2 separate regions of the Homo sapiens genome follow, and region 2 is linked to region 1. The links are contacts of gene promoters, found by promoter capture Hi-C in blood cells and fetal thymus (Javierre and others, 2016). All regions are on one chromosome and are shown on one strand. Each heading gives the region's core, a stretch centred on a gene start or on the middle of the fragment in contact. The rest is flanking DNA. Distances are from core to core; before and after follow the strand shown.

What was found. The method cuts DNA at HindIII sites, captures the fragments that hold promoters and counts their contacts. A CHiCAGO score of 5 or more calls a contact.
Region 2: a contact is called between a fragment that was not itself captured here and the fragment with the promoter of RAB36 in region 1, in 1 of 17 cell types (megakaryocytes). The highest score is 6.5, in megakaryocytes.

Annotation. Positions count from the first base shown.
Region 1 is chr22:23,143,320-23,147,163 of GRCh38, forward strand. RAB36 (RAB36, member RAS oncogene family) reads left to right here and starts at 2,158. Exons shown (of 11, transcript NM_004914.5): 1 at 2,158-2,232; 2 at 3,286-3,366. The coding sequence starts at 3,298. It also overlaps a transcript of RSPH14 not described here. RefSeq lists a silencer at 1,911-1,980. The HindIII fragment of the contact is 8,574 bases long and covers 1,082-3,844 here.
Region 2 is chr22:22,850,350-22,854,193 of GRCh38, forward strand. The region is part of intron 2 of LOC105372948 (a long non-coding RNA gene); the gene reads right to left. It also overlaps IGL and the pseudogene IGLV3-6. Among named protein-coding and RNA genes, the nearest start is that of MIR650, 29 kb to the left of the region's middle. The HindIII fragment of the contact is 171 bases long and covers 2,098-2,268 here.

The sequences.
Region 1 (3,844 bases), core at 908-3,407:
TAAATAAATAAATAGATATAATTTTAAAAAAAGATACAAGAAAAGGCAAACAGATATGCTTCTTTCTGCATTCAGCAAGCCATAAAGATTCCTCTAGGAGCGGTACCCTCACTGTACCAGGGCAAGAAAATAGCCCTTGTCACCTGAGACTAAGAATTGGGGACTGCAATGGACCTGAATAAATATACTTAACCCTGTCTTCCACTAAGTTTATGCCCCTCATATTATCTCCTAGTGAATCCCCTAGAATTTACTGCCCTAGCCAGATCCCCTTTGTCCTGCCATTTCTTCTCAAATTTGTCATCCTTTGTCTAAAAAGTATAAAAGCATCTTGCTTTGGCCACTTCTCTAGACTTCACTCTGGTAAAGATCCCCATGCGCATGTAAAACTAATAACACTTGTATGCTTTTCTCTTGCTAATCTGCCCAGTGTCAGTTTGGTTTCTAGATCTAGGCAAAGAGCCCACTTAAGAGCTAAAGGAGGATTGGGGCCAGGTGTGCTGGCTTACGCCTGTAATCCCAACACTTTGGGAAGCCAAGGCCGGCGGATCACATGAGGCCAGGAGTTCAAAACCAGCCTGGCACACATGGCAAAACCCCATCTCTACTAAAAAAATTTAAAAATTAGCCAAGCATGGTTGGTGCGCACCTGTGGTCCCAGCTACTCGGGAGGCTGAGGCAGGAGAATCGCTTGAGCCGGGAGGCGGAGATTGCAGTGAGCCGAGATCACACTACTGCACTCCAGCCTGGGCGACAGAGTGAGACTCCATCTCAAAAAAAAAAAAAAAAAAAAAAAAAAAACAGCTAAAGGAGGAGTTCAGGGTGATCTCTAGCTCCTGCCAAATCCCCAAATCCAAATTAGTAAGTGACCCCACAGCTTAATCTTCCCTTCTCCTAAATCCCATTGGCACACTCCCTTCCCCTAATTCTCTATTTACTTCTCTGCTTCCCGCAGTGGACTCCAATTTCCCTGAGGGTGGACACCATGTCCGTTCTCTTTCCTTGTCTCCCCAGTGCTAGGCATATACCAGGAAGCTTTCAGTACATGTAGGACAAATGAATAGTTAATGGACTTGAATCAAGCTTTACAGTATAAAAGCACTTTCACCATCTCAGGTGATCCATTGAAATAGATAGTTGCGTTTATTTTATAGTTGAGTAAACTGAGGTGCGGAAGGTGGAACAACTCACCTAAGTTCACCCCCTAAGCCTCAACCTTAGCAGTGAAACTCACTAAAAGACATTAAACAGAGCCAGGTGTGGTGGCCCTTGCCTGTAGTCCCAAGGACTGGGGAGGCTGAGGCGGGAGGATTCCTTGAGCCTAGGAGTTCGAGTCCAGCCTGGACAACATAGCAAGACTCCATCTCTTTAAAAAAAAAAAAAAAAGACATCAAACACCAGCCTCCAGCACACTTAGCTTTGAATTGAAGATGACTGAGTTAGATCTGTGTACCAAGGCTTCCATATTGTGATGCAGAAAAGTTAAGGAGCTGAATTAAGTAGGTTCTCAAACTGAACCCCGGACTTCGAAGCTGGTTCCACGGTTTTATAAGGGCCACAAGAGGCCATCTAGCCCAAAACAGCTAACTTTCCAAACCGAAACTAGTTCAGAGGAAATCACTGACTCAGGTCAGCTTTTTATTAAGGAAATTAATTTTGTACCGTGAGCTCTAGAAGCCAGGCATATGATATTCAGACAGCACTGGATTCAGAACTATGCAGACTAAGGTCAGTAGATGGTAGGCAGGTCTATCTTCTGCAGCTGCAGGGTGCTTGACTCCAATTAAACATCAATACCACATCAGGAGCTCTTATGCCATAACCGCCCAACCTCTCCCAGCCGAGCTGATCACCAGAACCTGCGCGAATCTCTCCACGGTCAGCCCCACCCAGGGCTCAGGCTCCGCCCCCGGGCCTCCATAGCCCCGCCCACCGCCCACCCATCCAGCACCGCCCTTGTTGTCATGGTGATCTCCGGCTCTCCAGGGTGTCCAGGAGTCTCTCTGCTGCCAGCCCCGCCCAGACTCCAGGCAGGTTCTCGTTGCTATGGTGATCGCCGGTGCAAGCTGGATGCTTGGACGCGCCGCTGCCAGTCCAACGCAGACCCCGCCCACGACGTCGACGATTCGTGTAGCCCGCAGGTCCCGCGTGGCTCTCGTTGCCATGGTGATCGCCGCCGCTGGCTCAGGCGGACCAGGCCGCGCGGAGCCCCAGCTTTCACAGCCATCGCTGGTGAGTCAGCTCGCCCACTCTGTCCGACCCTCCCGGTCACCCAACCCCGTGCTGGCACATCCCGAGGCCAGGGCCGCGAGGGCACAGCGTCCGCGCCCACTTCCCGCCCCTATAACTTGAAAGCGGCCTGCGGCCCCGGGGCGTCCTCATTTCCGGAGCGCAAACTCTGGGCCAGGCCCGCGCTGGTTGTGGAGGAGAGCCAGGTCAGATGCGGGAAGACAACCGGACTCCGCCAGGACCACCCCAGCCCAGCCTGGAGAGGAGTCCGGACAGAAAAAGGAGACAGAGGGGCTGTTGAGGAGGCTCGAGGAGTCAGAGGCCTGGTGAAGTGAGGGTTTTCAGGGAAAAGGCCTAGTTGGCTGAAAGTTAAGGCCCCCAGGCCCACCTAGAGCCTTCGTCCTTTGCAGACTGGGAGCAGGAGACCCCTCCCCACTCTACTTCCACTGCCTGAGCTGTGCCATGCCTCACAGCCCAGTAAGGTAAGCTCAGAGGGGAGCTCCTCCTTGGTAGACACCTGTCAAGGGGAGACCCAGGTCTTCTGACTCCCAGGCAGGGTGGGGCAGGCCTGGTTCCCCCATACCATGCTGCCTGCTGTATGCAGATTGAGAGAAATGGCCTCTGCCCCATATTCCTGACAGAGAGGGAAGCCTGGATCTGGTTTTATTTATAATTCTTGAGACAAGGTCTTACTCTATCACCCAGGCTGGAGTGCAGTGGCACCTTCACGGTTCACTGCACCCTTGACCTCCCAGGCTCAAGCATTCCTCCCACCTTCCTCCCAAGTAGCTGGGACTGCAGGCACAGGCCACCATGCCCTGCTAATTTTTTTGGTTTTTTTTTGTAGAGACTGAGGTTTCACTTTGTTGCCCAGGCTGGTCTCAACCTCCTGGGCCCAAGTGATCCTCCCACCTTGGCCTCCCAAAGTGCTGGGATTACAGGCATGAGCCACTGCACCCAGCCTGGATCTGATGAAAAGTTAGGTGGAAACTCATGGGTGAATCCCCAGGTATTTGCACAGCTCCTTAACTGTCTTTCTCCTGGTTGGGTCCACAGGACTGTGGAAGAATGAGGTCCTCCCTGACACCTTTGGGGCCCCCTGTGAGCCGCGACCGTGTCATCGCCAGCTTCCCTAAGGTAGAGAGTCATTACGTCTGCAGTGCTCTCCTGGCCCTGCAGCCACATCAGCTCTCCCCACTCTACACTCATGCCTAGAAGTAAAGCAGGTGAATCAAGGAGGTCTGTCCATTGTCAGATTTACCTTGAGGAGCTGGGAGACTGGTCACTGACTGCCCAAGGTGGGACCGCAAGTTAATGGTGACACTGGGCAGCAGTGTGGCCTGGAGGTTATAAGGGCTGGGATTTTGCAGCCAGACAGTCCTTGATGTGAATCCTTCATTCTGATTCTGTCATTAAGCTGTGTGGCTGTGGGCAAATTACTCAACCTCTCAGAGCCACTGTTACATGAAGGTAATTCCTCTCATATTGGGTGCCTGGCTCATGGTATGCAGGAGCTCCCCTGCAGTCATAGTTGCTGTTGTTCTCATCATCGTTGTTGTTATCAAAACAGCATTCCAGTTCCATGACCCCAAATCCAGGGCTCTCTCCTCTTGCC
Region 2 (3,844 bases), core at 933-3,432, 290 kb before region 1:
CTCTCCTGTCCTCTCTTGCAAGCTCCTATGAGCTTACACAGCCACCCTCAGTGTCAGTGTCACCAGGACAGGCAGCCATGATCACCTGCTCTTGAGATAACCTCAAAGATGAGTATGTTTACTGGTTCTGGCAGAAGCCAGACCAGGCCCATACTGGTGATATATGAAGGCAGCAAGCGGCCCTCAGGAATTTCTGATTTTCTGAGTCCAGCTCAGGGAACATGGCCACCCTGACCATCAGCAGGGCTCAGACTGAGGACGAGGCTGACTATTACTGTCACAGGTACAATAGAAACAGTGATGAGCCCACAGTGACACAGGCAGATTAGGAAGTGAGACACAAACCCCTTCCCAATCTGTGTCACCCTCTTTCTCCAGCCCCAGGATGGCTGTGGACAAAGCCATGAGCAGGGCTGGTCCAGTTCACCCAGTTCTGTGACCCCCAGGCTGCTCTTCCCTCCAGCCCTCCAGGCAGGTTGTGAAGAGGGTGAGTTAAGAAGAGATTTGAGGCTGTGTGACAGGCTATCCTGGGGTTTTTCTGGCCAAGGATAAAGCTGGTGAAAGAGAGCCTGAATGGACGGGCAGACAGAGTGGCCCATGCACGTAGTGGCAAAAGACCTGGGTTTCCACATGCCAGCCCTTCAGGCAGGCTCTGCAGAGAGTGGGTTAGGAGGAGATTTGAGGCTGTGTGGACAGGCTGTTTTGGGGTTTTCTAACCCAGGATAAAGCTGGTGAAAGAGGGCCTGGATGAAAGGACACACAAAGCGTATCTTTCATCTAGTGGTAAAGGATGTGAGTTCCATATGGTGAAGCCTGGGTCACCCCTTGGCCCAGACGTCCTAGGTTAGTCCTCAGCATTTCCCTAGCACTTAAGTTCCTGAATCTCCTGGCAGCCTTATATTCAAAACGGTGTAAGCTGGAGTGGACGCTGTGGGGTCCACCTAGACTCCACGTTAAGGTCGACCCACACACTCTCAGAGCCTACGAGTGGATACCCATGCTGTGGGGCACATGTCACCTGACAGAGTGGCTGACCACCCCTGATCTCTTCTTTCTGACCACTTGGGTGTTTGGCACTATGTCCATCATGGACACTCTATGGGCTATTAACCTATGATTCAAAGTTTCTTCTGTGTGGTGCCCGTGCCCAAAGACCACCCACAGGCTTCTGCCCATACTCCACTTCCCCCATTTCCAAGTTTTTCTCTTGCAGTCCCTGGAACACCTGCCCAGGTCATTTCCCACTGCCCTAAGCCCCTATCTGCCCTGGCATCCGGCCACTCACCTTTCCTCACAAAATGAATGACCAGGCGCCATGCCCTCATGCAGGAAAGATGTCCCCTCTCCATTGTCTCTTAATGCCACCCCTTAGTACACCCATATAGTGCAGCTGTGCTCTACTTCATGGTGATCCAGTTCATTGCTGGGCTACTCTGGAAATTTTTGCTCCATCAGCTGAGCAGAGGGACTGCTACCCACACAACGTAAGTGTAAACCCAGGGAGCAGTGCTAGAGCAAGAGAGATGCAAACTTGGCTGTGGACCACCCACAGGTTACTCAGCTCTGGGGCCCTGCTCCTGCTCCATCCTAGCTGTGTCACATCTGTCTCACCAGGGATCGCTGCTGGGGTCTGCCTGAGCACACGACGGGGGAATCTGGCAGTTCTGGCTGCTTGGTCACTGAATGTCCGATGCTGTCCTGTATCTACCAGGGAACAAGAGCACATGGGGAGAGTTGTTTTCCAAATGAATATAATTCTCTCTTGTGGATGACATGGAATTGTTCCAAATCCCATGGGATTGGAATCCCATTGGGAAAATCTCATGGGATTTTCCCATGAGAGATTGCGTAAACATGAGTTTTCAGTTCCTATCATAAATTCTTCCATTCCTATCACCAATTCTGTGACTATGGTAGAGTCTGCTGGATTCTGTGGTCCCAACAGCAGGACACTCATACCCCTGCCTGAACCTGGTGCAGAACCTCCCTGCTCTGGGCTCCAAAACAGTGGGCGATGTTCATGGCTCCTGATATATGAGTTGGAGCCACATCCCCAAGGGTTAAATATGCTGCCTCTAGACACCAGAATGACCTTAAAGCTTTGTGTTTCTTTCTGGTGGGAATTGTAAGATCTAATAACGTGCTCTTTATTTTGTGAGAGATACTAAGCTGCTCCAGAGAACTCAATCCTAAACATTTCAGCTACTACACAGGATGAATGGTCTTAGGGCTTGTTTCGCACTCTCAGGAATGCGTGGGTCTCACCAAAGCTTCCAATAGACAGGGCCCCCTCATGCACATCTGATCCAAATACAGAATAGAGCCCTAGGAGGTTCTCCTGGGTGTTCAGATGGTCAAAGCCCCTATGACAATATCATGAAAAAGAAGGGAGAGTTAATGAAGTTGAAAAAATAAAAGTATAAACCTATACTGCTGTCTACTCCTTGTATGCACACCGTTTCTGATCCTGTTCTGAGAGGAATAGAATGAGTTTCTGCATTGATGGTGCCTGCTGTGCACCTGTAGCCATGCATGGTGGTGTGTTCTATCAGGGTCTTCATCTGGCACAGCAATGGCAGATGGAACTACCAGCTGACTGCGTCTGTAGAAATCCACTTCCATCTTCCAGGATCCATTCAACAATTGTAGGAATCATTTCAGTAAACCAAACACAAGAGCCTCAACTATAACTACAAGTCCTCCAGGAGAGGAGAACGCTGTCTCAGAGGGTGCATTCCTACTGGAATTTCTCTTCTCTTTGGGACAAACCAGCCCAGAGGAGGCACAGGGGCTGTGTGTCATCTGGTTTCCTAGATGAGGTGTCTCCTCCTCACTGTCCTGAGATTTTGAAGAAACTGGGGAGATTGGTGCAGACACTCCTTGGATCCTTACAGGAAACTTCCTTCAGACCACACACTCCTCAATTTGTTCCCAAGCTCCAAAGTTTCTAAAGTCACTGTCTAAAGGGCCCACAGTGTTTTTGTGGAGTGGTGGAAAAGCTCTGGGGATGGAAAGTGGTGGTGGTTGCAAAGCATTCTGAATGTACTTACTGTTGCTGAATGCACACTTACAAATGATTGAAATGGTTTAAAAATTGTTCATTTTGCCATAATAAAAATACTGCACACTCTGGAGGAAAGTAAACCTAGTTTAATTTTGAAATTGTTCAATGGATACCAATCAAAGAATAGTGTAGCAAGCACCATTTCCCCTCTCGCTATAGCAGCAACTGATCCCCTTGTGCTCTTTTGGACTCTCTCCCCTGCTCTCTCTCTCTCAATAATAAGCAATGCTCTTCTCTCCAGTCCAAGCTCACACTTCCCCAGTTGTGCAGGAATGCCTATTGTAACTGTTAATTTATTTCCAGGCAGAGTCCTCAAGATTCCTCTGCTCATATTCTGTTCTCAGCTGTCTGGAGCCAGCATGACAAGTGAGCCAAGATCACTTGTCATGAGAGACTTGTGGAAGGTTTTGCAAAAAGTTCCCCAAGAAAAAACAATGCTCATTGTTGACAGCAGGTCCATTTCCACACAGTAGGGCCATGCTGGGTGTGCAGTGGGGCTGTGCACACTGTGCCCACAGGCCAGGCTCTGCACTGCTGACTCTGATCCTGTGCTTGGTAGGACCTTGTGCACTGCTGAGTCCACTGCAGACTCGACCCTGAATGGGAAGGTGGTTCCTAGCTGCTGGGCACTGAGTCTCATAGAGGGACAGATGGTATTGAGGATGCCCGGCCCCTGATGTACATAAGGGGACAAGGTCTGCTGGTAGAACAGGAAGATGAAGGAACCTGTGGCTCTAAAGGTGGGGTCTCCAGCCCTCAGTCTCAGCTGCCCATGGCCTC